Regions from separate parts of the Homo sapiens genome. Here region 2 is linked to region 1. Evidence: promoter capture Hi-C in human tissues and cell types (Jung and others, 2019). All regions are on one chromosome and are shown on one strand. The core of a region is centred on a gene start or on the middle of the fragment in contact, and the rest is flanking DNA. Distances in the headings are between cores, read along the strand shown.

Region 1 (7,428 bases), core at 2,440-4,939:
AGGATTTCTATCACCTCCATAACCTTAATGATGATTTGCAGCTGTAAGGAGGAGGGCCATATCTTAGCAGGCTTGGCTTTTCACCAATTACTTGGCTCTCCTCTGCCTTCCCCATCTCCTAGAACTACAAATTCTTTCCCTTAATCACGTAGAATATTTCTACATTCTTTAATGTCTTTTGAAGTTTTACGCTCTTATACCATGTATGTTGGTAAAACAATGTGTTCCATAATAACATAGAGCTCTTCCTAAGGAATTATAATAAACTGCTTAAAAAAATACTTATTATATGTGGAAGGGCTCATCTATCCATGCTCAATCTGTAAGTCCTCTCCTCCAAGTTTGACTTAAATATTTTCTATTTTTTGGAACTTGCCGGGCTAGAGATGATCAAATGGCAATGGAAGTAGAAGCTTTCTACCTCTTTATCTTTATGGGTAGAGTGTTAGAAAATGGGTGTAGTCAATTCAAACTACAAATAATTGAGAAAAACACTTCATAAAGTCTATTCATTGAATCAATATTACCTGGTGCTATGGTTGGAATGTTTGTCTCTCCCAAAAATTCATATGTTGAAACCTAATCACCAATGTGATGATATTAGGAGGCGAGGCCTTTCAGAGATGATTAGGTCATGGGGACAGAATCATCATGAGTTGAGAATTTTGGGTATTCAAAATTATAACATGGTAGAGTTAAAATTGATGGCTCCTAAAATAGGAGTGATCTTAAAATCATCTAGTCAAACATTCTCATTTTATAGAAGAGAAGATAGGAGATCTTGACTTGGCCGAGGCTATCTAACCAGTCCCTGATAGTGTCAGCGCCTAGCCTCTGCCTGTCTTGAATCTCACGAAAGTTCTATTACATCCTGCTGTTTCTTGGCCAGAGACAGTGATCCTGGGTAGCAACTACTCAACTTATTTCTCCAAATAGATATACATATTTCTCCATAATGGAATAAAGTACAATTCACACATGTTAAAAAATAGCCAGGATTAGATTAATATAGGGTATATTACCATCTGAAACATAATAGTGATGTGCAATTAATACAGTGTGTATAATACTAAAGATTCAACTTCTGTCAACCCGGTATCTAAACAGTTCTGAGGAGGATGAGGTGGAAAGTCTATCTCTGGAAAACCTGATTGAATGGATGCTACCTCAGCCTTCATCTTGGGTTTAAAATTACACAAACTAGTATATCATTCATGACGTTCAGCCACTTACTAATGTGATCTTGGGCAAATCACCTTTAAACTCAATCTGACTTTCCTCACTTGCTAAATAGGAATAATAACGCCTACCTTGCAGGGTTTGGTTCTGCTTTAAAATAATAATCTGCATGAGAGACTCAATCCTTGAGCATGGTATACACTAAAAGGTTATTAATTTCCCCCTTCACTCTCATTTGTCATTGCAATTTTACTTGAATTATTAACCTAAAATTAGCTTATCTATTACTTATATCCCATTTTGAAATAAAACTGATTTTATTTTTGCCCCCAGTGGGTCAGTAGAAAGACTTAAATAGTATCTTGGACACATAGTAATTCTTTTTTCCTTTTTTGTTCTAAGAAAATCCTCATTTGTGACAGAACTGCCACATAGTCCTGAAGAATAAGGAAAGTCAGGCGATGAATGACTATTTTCCAGAAGACAGGTAAAGCATATTTGGTAGATTAATTCTCAATTCACCTTCTAAGCAGAAAAGGACAAAACCCTCATTTACCAAGATTCTAAAGAGATTTCCAGGCAAGTCCCTAGCCAGCCCCACATCAGTCTTTGCTTTGAAGCATCCATTCCCCAGAGCTTGGTTTTCTTGACTAGGTCCCAAACCTTTTATTGAGCCGCAAGGCGACCGGAGGAAACAATCGGCTTCTTGCACAGACATTCACGTGTCTGGTGGCACTCAAGAGAGGGCTGGCACAAAAGTGCTTATCAGAGAATCAATCTTTTTTGCCTATTATCTTCCTTTTCCTCGGAAGAAAGTGAGTTAGTGCAATTACCTCATCTAGAACAATTACCTCACCTTAAACTGTTTATTCTTCAGAGAAAGGCGTTTGGGAGCAGGTAGCACATTGGCGGGAGACATGGATTTTTGAAAAGTACTTGATGTTGAGCGTGGGTAGTGAGGAACTGCTGGGAAGGTTGCCTTTCAAACCAAGGCTCCCTTTTCTATGGGGGATTACCAGGCAAAAGGTGAGCTCTGCTGCCATTTTGAGGACTCGATCCTGGCAGCGATAATGAGGTAGTCCAATTGGGGAGCCTGGGACTCCCCACCAACTTCCTGGGTGTGCTCTGAAATTGAGTGACCTAGGACAAGCTCTCTAAAGTTACTCCTCCAGCAGAGGGAAGAGGCAACCGTGAGGTATTTTCGAAAGCAGTTAAATAAAAATTTGATAATCTATCTAAAACAAGCCACACTTAAAAAAAAAAAAAAAAAGAGTCTTCTTTCCTTCTTCTTATAAAAGTCCAGCGCGTTTCAAAGTCCTTTTAATTGTCAGGCCCAGAGAGACATTAGAATGAGACCACAATCATGCCCTACTCCTTCCTTTAAACTATATATTCATTTCTTAAAACTACATACTATTACTACAAATAGCTATAAATTAACCTAATAATACCACATCAAACAGTATAACCCACATCCTATGACTTAACTATATATAACTAATCACTAATCGACATTATTTCAATAAATCAGTATAAATTCCTAACAATGTTACATCAGTCCACTCCCCATCCCCCTTTTTTTTGCCTTTAAGAATCCACTTATAACTACTACTAATCAAAATATATATTCAAAACAACTTAAATCTATACTCCTGAGTTGCAATCCTCACACTTGGCCCAAATAAACTCTTACTTATATTAATTTCGCCTCACCTTCTTCCTTTTTAAGTCGACACTCCTTTCCCTGATACTTACCAGAAGGCAATTCCTTGGGCTCAGATTAAAACTGACAAAAATAGGAGCCATTCGAAATGAGGGAGCTTCTGAAAAGTTTGGGGATTCCGGAGTGTTCAGGACAACAGAATAGGGAATTCGAAAAAAAAAGAAAGCAAAAATAAAAATCGATTATACAAGCCTTAATGCACCCATGATTGTTATTCCCCACTTCTTTATTTATATGAATGAAGTTAGCATAGTTGCAGCAATGGAGTAACTCCATTATTATTTTTTCCCACTACGCATTTATTTTAAGTCTTTCTTTTTCTCAGGATGTTTTCCTGAGTGATGTCTGATCTAATGGGAAAAAGTGGAAGTAGGAGAGGCAGGACTTTAGAAGGGCTCAAAGTAGATGAACAAAACGGAGGTCTCCTGGAAGCAGGTGACTGAGTTAGGCAACCGAGATGCCCACATATCTGTGCGGCGTTCGCCCCAAGAGGCCAGCCGGCTCCGCTCAGCTCCCCGCGGCGTGGCCGCATCCCCGCCGCCCGACTCCCAGCCCGCTTCCTCTCTCCGCGAGCGGGGGGGGGAGCTGCAGGCGGGGCCCGAAGCGCCCCGGGGGCACGTGGAGCGGCCTCTGGCTCACCTGCGCCTCCCGGGCCCCAGCCCAGCGCCGCCGCGTCACCGCCCCTCCCGCGGCCCCGCCCCAGCCCGGCTCATTGGCTGCCGCTCGGAGGGGAGGGGAAGGGGCGGCTGCGGGGGTCTCATTAGCGATGCGGACTCTCGCCTCCGCTCCGTAGTTCGGGGCCCGGCAGCGGCGCGAGGGCTGGGAACTGCGCGGCGGGGACTGCGGGCGACTCCGGCATCCGCGCTGGCGGCAGCGGTCGCCGCGCCGTGGGAAGCTATGGGGACGCGCCCTTTCTCGGGGTGCCCATTCAGCGGCGGCTCGGAGCTCCCTGCCCCGCTGCTTTAGGAAGCGATCGTGGAGCAGAGTCACTCTCTGAAGACTCCCGAGACCCATTCGACTCGGGACCCTCATCGCCGACCCTTTCCCGGGCTCCCGGAGCGTGAAGAAGAGCCGCCCTCCGGAACGCGGCGAGGAGCATGGGGAGAGCGGCGGCCACCGCAGGCGGCGGCGGAGGGGCGCGCCGCTGGCTCCCGTGGCTGGGGCTGTGCTTCTGGGCGGCAGGGACCGCGGCTGCCCGAGGTAAGCGCTGGGCGGAGCGGGCAGCTGGGGGCGAGGGCGCAGGGGCGCCAGCCTGACGGAGCGGGACCTGCACCGATGGCGTTGGCTTCCCAACTTGCGCCCTGCACCTCGGCGCTCCAAGCCCAACCGGATGGGAGCCGAGTGGAGGACTCCGAGGGGACCACAGCCTTCCAACCCAAGTTTGCGATCTGCCGCAATCCTACAGGTGGCTGTGACCCGGGCCCCTACCGTTTTCCTGGACCCTCCTTGCCTGCTCCATTTTCCAAGCCCTCCCCAATTGCTGCAGACTGGAGTAGCCCGGTCTTCACTCCAATCTCGCTCTCCCCTCTCCTCTCCACTTCCTCTCAAGCCGAGCTTGGTCATGAGTTAGCGCCCATAGCGATGTCGGAGAGTTCCTGGGGAGAGGGGCCAGGTGATGGGAGTGTCTGTAGGGTGGGCTTGAACAGAGAGGGTGTCTTTTCCCTTAGGGGAGGAACACCCATGCTGAAGTCCCTTCGCTCTGCGCCTAGCTTGGCACCCCTCGGGCGTCCTTAGCCCGAGGTCCCAGCCAGCCCTGGAGCTCGGGAGAGCGGCGTGCACCATCCCAGTTTAACCGCGCCTGCAGTGCCCAGCCGGGATGAGCACTTGGCCCGAGGCTGCTCACCAGGCGCCTCCTCTCCCTTCCCGGCGCCTACTCTGGCTTGGAAGCGCGGGCCCCACCGAGCCGCAGGGAAACCTCTGCTTCTTTCCGACTTAGAAGCCTAGACCCCATTTTCTTGGATCCTCTGGACTCCAGCAGAGGGAAATTTCGCAACTGGTTTCAGCTCCACCTTGAGCGAGGACAGGCAGCATCAAGTTAAAGATAAATCCCAAGGAGTTGTTTTGAAGATGATCAGAGGCAGTTTCAGACACAGCTCAAGTACCGGAGCTTTACCTTTGAAAAAAATCGGAAGCTTTGCCTTCCCGCCCTTCTTTCCCTTTTTCCTTCTCTGTGTTCCATCCATCAGGCTTAGAATATGTGATACCGTTAAATGATTTGCCTTACACTTGCCAGGGGAGAGGTGGAGCTGAGCTGACCACTTCACCTGCTCTGTTCGGTCTCCTGAACATGCTCCGACCAGCCTGGAGAGTGAAAGGGTGGAAAGGGTTGAGGACGATCACAAAAGAACCAATGTTATCTCATTTTTATAAAAGCTTATGGCGTGTTAAAAGCAGTCCGGCTGCCTAGAAAGATTTTCTTTTTAAGAGGTTGATAGAGGCTCTCCATTGTATGATCCTATTCTTTGCCCATTTGCATTTCATTTCCTGAAAAGTTTTTTTTTTTTTTTTTTTTTTTTTTTAATGGAGCGGGCTTTGTAAGAAGCAGGGGAGGTTTAAAAATGAGCGTCGGTGATTGTACACCCTGGGTTATGATGAACCACAGTTCCTTCTCGTACTGGAAGAAGCACAAGCTTCAGCCATTTAATTTACTACGTACGGCAAATGTCTCATTGCAAAGTCAGCTCTCAGTTGTTTTTAATACACTCTTATGGGAAAAGTGGGTCTTTTCTAAATGTTAATCTAAATGTCTGAGTTTCCACTTACTATTCGTGTGGAATACCTCACAGTCACTAACTCCAGGTACTCACCCTTGGAATTGGGTTGGTGACGTTGTCTTGAAGCCAGCTCGAAACAAGAGGTGGGGACATGCCAGCAGCCTCTTGGATGGAGTTTTGCTGGCTGCGAAACTAAGGCTAGCACCTCTTGTCTGCAAGCTGTTCTTTAAAGGTCTCCTGGAAAACATGCTGTACATTCTGCAGGCTTATTTACAACAAATGTCTTGCACAGATCATAGTAATATGCAAGACACATGGAGTGGAGCCGTAAATCTGACTGATATTTCCCATGTCATATTTTACATTCTGGGGCATGAGGCCCATTCCCCTTAGCAACTGTCAGAGAGTCCTCAAGAAATGAGCACTAGTCAGGCTGTGAAACCGGTGAAGCCACATGCACCTGGCTTTGCACAGTTGGGTGTAATTGGAGTTTTCAGAATAGAGGGTGTGTTTCAGTGCTTATGAAGTTCTCCCTTCCCAGAAAGGTGTCCATTCATTAAAACCAAGATAAGATGCACTGGTGTGGCATGCTTGCCTGACCACTAGTCTCACCATACTCTCTAGGATTAGCCCTAGGTTGTTCTTACTTATCCAATTAATAGTTTTTGTTCTTTAGGACTTTTCTTGTTGATTTGAAACAAGATACTTTGCTTGCCCTAACCAACGGGGTATAGAATTATGCCATTTGCCTTGCTGTTATGAGAATATTTAACAATTCAGTAGCGTTTTCTTTACCATATTTATCATTTATCTGTTTCCAAAATGATTGCACCAACTTTTTTTTTTCTTTCCTTTCCCTCCATACTTATGTAGAAACCTCTGCAAATCAGAGGGAGATTTCAAATTGGTTTTGAATATACTCTAGGAGGAAGACCCTTGGGACAAGGAAATGTTGTAGAGCCCAGTAGTGGCCCAAGAAGCAATGTTCTGTTTCCCTCCTTTGTAAGTAAGACTTAGCTCTTCAGATGAACATCTCTGCCTGTCGGCATATTGTAAGGAAGGCACTCTGGTGCCATGATCACTGTATATTTTTACACTTTCCAACTTAAAAGGAGGTTGTTTAAAAGTTATTCATGACCTGCCAAGTGCTAACTGAATCCACATCATGTTGTCATACTGATTTGTTTTTGTTCTTCAAGAAAAAAAGGGGGACTGCTGTTCATCTGCTTGTTATTTTTGCCTTAGATACTGTACATAAGATACTGTAGTCATTAAAGGCAGAGAGGAAGATAATCTTAGACAAGCTGAGCTTTCATACAATTTCTTGCTTTAAAACATTTCCTGGACAATGAAATTTTGATTGCAATAACTAGAGTAATGCATTAATGGCAAGAGAAGTACACATTTATTACATAGGCATAATAATAGTCTTGTGATTTACACATACTTAAATCCGTCTATCTGTCTAGCTCATAAAGTTTAAAATCTATAGTCATTTCTACCTTAATGAATGTTGTGAGGCCACCCTCTTCCTTCCCACTTTACTTCTTCTGTTCCTTTTCCTCACAAATCTTTCTCTTCCTAGGACTATGAGAAAGAGTCTTTTTCCCCTATTTCCTGCCAGACTTATTTTTTCCTGATTCTTGGGTTGTGCTCTTATTTTGAGCAGCCCAGTGGCACCTTCTTAAGAGATCTTTTAAGCATCTCAGTTTTTAATAAGAGATTAATTGTTCTGACCTAGCCCTATAATGATAGCACTTGTCACCCTTTGCATACTTTTTTTGCTCTCCAGATGACCTATCGGTGGGTCTG
Region 2 (6,454 bases), core at 1,143-3,642, 52 kb after region 1:
AGGACATTCTGTAGTATTTGGAAGATAACCGTTGTCCCGAATGTTTGGCTCTAGTTTTGTTTAGAAGTAGTAATTGGTTTCAGATGAAGCTTTGCATAAGTTCAATTTCTAGTGTTCTATGAATATGTGAATAACGTTAAATTTTCTTCAAGGTGGTGATAGATGAATCCAAGTAAGCTTTCTGGGTAGCATTTAATTTGCTATCATGTGAGATAAAGGGTAAAAATCAAGCTAATTGATCAATTATATTTATTCAGGGATCTAGAAAAAACAATTTGTTTTTCTTAATCCAGAGCAAAGAATTGTAATCACTGCTGTATACAGGTTAAGCTTCTTACTGAAGAGGTCTTTCTGGGTGAGCCCCAGTGAAGGGTGTTTTACCTGTCTCTTGGGGTAAGAAGTCAGCCTTACCCCAAGAGATAGCCAGGGGAATCCACAGATTAATTCCCTTATGCATGAATCTGACAATGAGGCTATCAACATTATAAGCAGTTTTCTATCTAGCTACATTTTGGACTTTGTAGTCGAGTGAGGTGAAAGTCCTGTGATTGTACAGTTAGCACATTTTATATGACAGTATAATCTTAAAAAATAACATAGAAACAGAAACATTAGAAACGTAAGTCACAGTTTGTGAGTATGTCATTTTTTAGGGAAAAATAAAATATAGTAACGATTTATGAGGCCCCAAAGTTTTATATAAAAATGAAAAAGCTGTTTGGCAGTTAGGACTGACTGTAGCCTTCTGTCAAATCAGTCTTGACAACTGTTAAAAGACATTATCATCACAAATAGGGCTGCATTTCACTCTGTCTGTCAAATACAATCAATATATATGACTTTAAGAAAGTGTGACCATTTTCCCAGAGTGACACCAACAAGATGGTGGAATAGGAATTTTTGTTTAACTTTACTCACCTCACAGAAATCCAACTAGCAACTATCCACAGGCAAGAATACCAACCCAAATATTCAAGAACTTGGGAGTGAGTGCCACACCAGAGAAACTAGCCAACAGTGTCATACTGTAGGAAACACCGCCCACAAGTCTTCTAGGCTTGAATTCCTAGCGAGCTTCCCCACATTTGCCAGGTGCTTCTAAGCCAATGATTATGGAGGGAGCATCTGGCCCTGCCTGACCCTAGCAGTGGAGAGGTAATCCAACTAAGTTCTGGCGCTCACATGAAATCTTCCCCAGATTGGGAGAGAAGCAACTGCATGTCAGTGATTACTCATGGACACAATATCTGGTCCTGCCCAAGCCTAGCAGTGAAGAGATGATCCAACTCAGCCCTGATGCTCTCATTATGTCTTCCCCAAACCAGGAGGCAGTTGCAGGTCAGTGATTACCCATGGAAAGAGCATCTGGCCACCACCAAACCTTGGCGTTCTACTCTACCCTAGACCAGTAGGTAAGCCCAAGTCCACACATGTCTATAGGGCATATCCTCTGGCCTTGTCCACCTTGTGTGGCTGAGTAACAACCACAAAAATCTCACCCAGCATGGGAGCCTGTCATACAGCCGTGCCCAACTACAGGTTCCAAACAACAGAGCCAGGGAAGACAACTTGCAACTCTACCTAATCAGTCATGGCTGCAGAGTCCAATCAGCAGCCTCACCTGATGGCAAAGTTCAGCTAGTGGTTTCACTGATCACAGAGCACAGCCAGAAATACTATTTGATCTCAGAGCACAGGAAGCAGCTCAGCCCAATTATAGAACCTGACACCAAGCAAAGGCTGCCAGCCACCCCTCCAGAATCTCAGGCTAGACTAAATGGTAAAGATCTATAACCACCAAAAAACACCTGCAAAGGCTGGAAAATTTGGCTTTCTCCTCAAATGCACAGGCATAAGGACACAAAGATAATGAAAAATCAGGCAACATGACACCACCAAAAGAAACCAATAAAGCTTGTGTAATAGACCCAGAATAAATGGAGATCTATGAAATGACTGACAAAGAATTTAGAATAATCCTCTAAAAGAAGTTCAGGGAACTACAAGAAAATACAGATAGAGAATTAAGTGAAGTTTAGAAAACAGTTTATAAACAAAATGAAAAGTTTGACAGAGAAATGGAAGAAACAAATAAAAAAATCAAATGAAAGTCATAGTGATAAAGGATATAATAACTGAACCCTAAAAGTCAATAGAAAGCTTCAAAGAAGACTGGATATGGTGGCACGTGCCTGAAATCCCAGTACTTTGGGGGGCTGAGGCGGCTAATCATTTGAGTCCAGGAGTTCAAGACCAGACTAAGCAATATGGAGAAAACCTGCCTCTACCAAAAAAAAAAAAGAAAAATTGCAAAATTCAGTCAGGAATGATGATGTGTGCCTGTAGTCCCAGATATTCAGAGGCTGAGGTTGGAGGATTGCTTGAGCCCTGGAGGTTGAGGCTGCAGTGAGCTATGATTGCACCTTTGCACTCACTGGGTGACAGAGTGAGACCCTGTCTCAAAAAAAATGACTAAATAATAAATAAATAAATAAATATACTTTAAAGCAGATTTAAGCAGCAGAAAGAATCAGTGAGTTCAAATATAGGACATTTGAAATTATCGAATCAAAGCAGTAAAAATCAACAATATAAAAGAGTGAAGAAGGCCTATGAAAATTATAGAACACCAGTAAGTGGACTAACCTTTGCATAATACAAATTCCTGAAGGATGAGAGAGTGCAAAAGGCTTAGACAGCATATTTAAGAAAATAATGGCTGAAAAATTCCCAAATCTGGAGACAGATAATCTCATGGAAGCTCAGAGGTTGCCAATCAAATTGAACCCAAAGAGGAGTTTACTATACACATAATAATCAAATTATTAAAAATTAAGATAAAGAATACAGAAAGTAGCTACAGAAAATAAGCATATCACATTCAAGGGAGCCCCAGTACATCTTTCAGCTTATTTCTCAACAGAAATCCCACAGGCCATGAGAGAGTGGGATGGTATACTCAGAATACTGGGGAAAAGAAAGACTATCAACCAAAAATACTATACCTGGTAAAGCTGTTCTTCATAAATGAGGGACAAAAAAAAAACTTTCGAGCAAATAAAAACAGACAAACAAAAGCTAAGGGAGTTTATCACCACTAGGCCTGCTTTACAGGAATTACTAAATGGTTTCTTTAAGCTGAAAGAAAAGGCTTTTAATAACAAAAGATATGTGAATGTAAAAAACTCTTTGGTATAAGTAATGCCTGGTCATACTCTGAATTCTCTAATACTGTAACGGTGGTATATAAAACAATTGTATTCCTACTAGGAGGGTTAACACACAAAAAAATTGAAAACAACTATAGCTAGAATAAATTGTTGAGATAGAAATTACAAAAACAAATGTAAATTTGGACTTCAATATCATAAAAGTTGTTGGGAGGGTGAAAGTGTAGTTTTTATATGCATGTAAAGGCAAGTTGTTATCAGCTTAAAGTAGCCTTTCATAAGGATGAGATATTTTATGTAAGCCTCATGACCACCACAAAAGTAGAAACCTATAGCAGTTTCACAAAATGTAAGAAGAAAGAATTCAAAGCATATCACCACAGAAAACCATCAAACCACAAAGGAAGACAGCAGGAAAGGAAGAAAAAAAGAAGGGACCTAAAAAACAATCAGGAAACAAATTACAAAAAGACAGTAGCAGGTTCTTACCTATCAATAATTACCTTGAATATATGTGGTGTAAATTCTTCAATGAAATGATATAGAGTGGCTGAATGGATTAAAAAAGAAATAAGATCTAACCCCATCCTACCTACAAGAGCCTCACCTTATCAGTAATGATACATGAACTGAAAGAGAAGGGATGGAAAATGGTATTCCATGCAAATGGAAACTAAAAGGGAGCAATGATAACCAACTTACATTAGACAAAATATAGTTTAAGTAAAAAACAATAAAAAGAGACAAAGAAGTTTGTTACATAATGACAAAGGAGTTAATTCATCAAGCAGACATAAAAGTTGTAAATATATGTGCACTAAACATTGTAGCACTGAAATACATATAGAAATTATTAAATGATCTGAAGGGACAGATAGATTGCAATACTGTAATAGCAGGGGAATCTGAACACCACACTTTAAACAATGGACAGATCATCTAGATGGAAAAGAAACACTGGAATTGAATTGTAATTTAGATCAAATAGACCTAATAAATATGTACAGAACATTCCATCCAACAATGGTAAAATACACATTCTCCTCAAATGCATATGGAACACTCTCCAGATAGATCACACATTAGGCCACAAAACAAATCTTAACAAATTTAAGAGAATGAAAATAATACGTGTGATAACAGGTTAACATCCAAAATATATAATGAACTCAAACAATTCAATAGCAAGAAAACAACTCAAATTATATGTTGGCAAAGTACTTGAACAGTCATTTTTGAAAAGAAGACATATAAATGGCCAATAGGTATATGAACAAATGCTCAGCATTGCAAATCATTAGAAAAATCGAAACCACAATAAAAGAGCCAGGCATGGTGGCATCTGCCTGTAATTTCAGCCACTTGGAAGGCTGAGACAGGAGGGATCATTTGAGACCAGCCAGAGCAATATAGTGAGGCTCTGGCTCTGAAACAAAAAATGAAAAATAAAAATAAAAATAAATTATATAATGGGTATCACCTCATACCCATTAGAATGTCTTTATCAAAATGATGAAAGGCAAGTGTTGGGAGAGGATATGGAGAAAAAGGAACTTCTGTATATTATTGGCGGGAATGTATATATTATGGAGGTTCCTCAAAAAACTAAAGATAGAAATATTGTATGACTCAGTAATTCCACTTCTGGGTATATATTCAAAGGAACTGAAATCAATGTCGAAGGGATGTTCATTGCAGCATTATTCACAATAGCTGAGATATGGAAGCAACCTAAGCATCCATCAGTGGATGAATGGATAAAGAAAAGATGGTGTATATACATAATAAACTACTCTTAGACCTTAAAAAAGGGGAAAATGCTGTCACTTGTGACAACATGGATGAATCTGGAGGACCTTATGCTAAGTGAAATAAGCTAGGAACAGAAAGACAAATACTGTATGATTGTACTTTGAACTCATAGAATTAGAGAGTAGAACAGTGGTTACCAGAGGCTGGGGTAAGGGTAGGGGGTTGGGGAGGGAGGGAATGAGAAGTTGTTAATCAAAGGTTACCAAGTTTCTAATAGACAGGAAGAGTAGGTTTTAATATCTATTGCATAGCAAGGCATCTATAGTCAATAATAATGTATTATATACTTCAAAGTAACTAAGATAAATGTTTAAATATTAATTTTAAAAAAAGAAGTGTGGAGGCCAGGCGCGGTGGTTCATGCCTGTAATCCCAGCATTTTGGGAGGCCAAGGCGGGCGGATCACCTGAGGTCAGGAGTTGGATACCAGCCTGACCAACGTGGAGAAACCCCATCTCTACTAAAAACACAAAATTAGCCAGGTGTGGTAGTGCGTGCCTGTAATCCCAGCTACTCAGGAGGCTGAGGCAGGAGAATCGCTTGAACCTGGGAGGTAGAGGTTGCAGTGAGCTGAGATCGTGTCATTGCACTCCAGCCTGGGCGACAAAAGCGAGACTCCATCTCAAAAAAAAAAAAAAAAAGAGGTGTGACTAGAAAGAGTGTCAGAGAAATTGGAAGGGTAACCAGAAATCAGCTACTTTTGGCTATCCTTGTGGGAGAGGGATTTTAGAATTAAACCTCAGACCAATGCCCAGTAAACCAAGTGGAAACTGAGTTTCTCAGAATTGCCTTGCTGGGAGCAAATTGTGTGATATAGAGTGGCTGAATGGAAAAAACAACAACAAAAACAACAAGATCTAACCACATGGTACCTACAAGAGACTCATATTACTAGTAAGGAAACAAACTGAAAGAGAAGGGATGGAGAAAGTTTACCCATGCAAATGGGAACTGATAGAGAGCTGGGATAATTAACTTACATCAGACAAAATAGAATTTAAGTAAAAAACAATAAAAAGAGACAAGGAATTTGAAATCACTTATTTATTGTTGTATAAGTCAACCAGCAAACTATTCTAAGTACCATAAAGGATATGTCTCCATCAGGTTCACATGACATCCTTGGTGTCTGACCATCACTTGCTTAGTAATTCAGCACATCCATGGGCCTATGGAGCTGATGGTGGGAAAACGGGCCTGATTTTGCAGTAGAAAAAAACTGAGCTGGAAAACTGAAGATTTCATTCTGGACTCAGCTTTCCCTGTATATAATGATTGGCTTTCAGACACTTCAGTAACTTCTTGGGGCTGTTTCTTTATGGTGTCATTGGTTTGGGTGGTGGATTGTGTGCCTTTAAGGACATTCCACTTCTGATACCGCTTGATTCTAAATTCCATTTATTCTGTTCCATTCTTTCATTTCTCTCTTTTGTAGTTGAATTTCAAGTAACCAGTTATAGATGTAGCTCAGA

What was found. The method cuts DNA at HindIII sites, captures the fragments that hold promoters and counts their contacts. A contact is called where the count stands out against the background at its distance.
Region 2: a contact is called between a fragment that was not itself captured here and the fragment with the promoter of UNC5D in region 1, in 2 of the 25 tissues and cell types used here (H1 embryonic stem cells and thymus).

The regions. Positions count from the first base shown.
Region 1 is chr8:35,231,786-35,239,213 of GRCh38, forward strand. It overlaps UNC5D (unc-5 netrin receptor D), which reads left to right and starts at 3,690. Exons shown (of 17, transcript NM_080872.4): 1 at 3,690-4,102. The coding sequence starts at 4,000. The HindIII fragment of the contact is 15,361 bases long and covers 1-7,174 here.
Region 2 is chr8:35,285,343-35,291,796 of GRCh38, forward strand. The region is part of intron 1 of UNC5D (unc-5 netrin receptor D); the gene reads left to right. Among named protein-coding and RNA genes, the nearest start is that of UNC5D, 53 kb to the left of the region's middle. RefSeq lists enhancers at 820-1,320, 1,321-1,821. The HindIII fragment of the contact is 4,518 bases long and covers 134-4,651 here.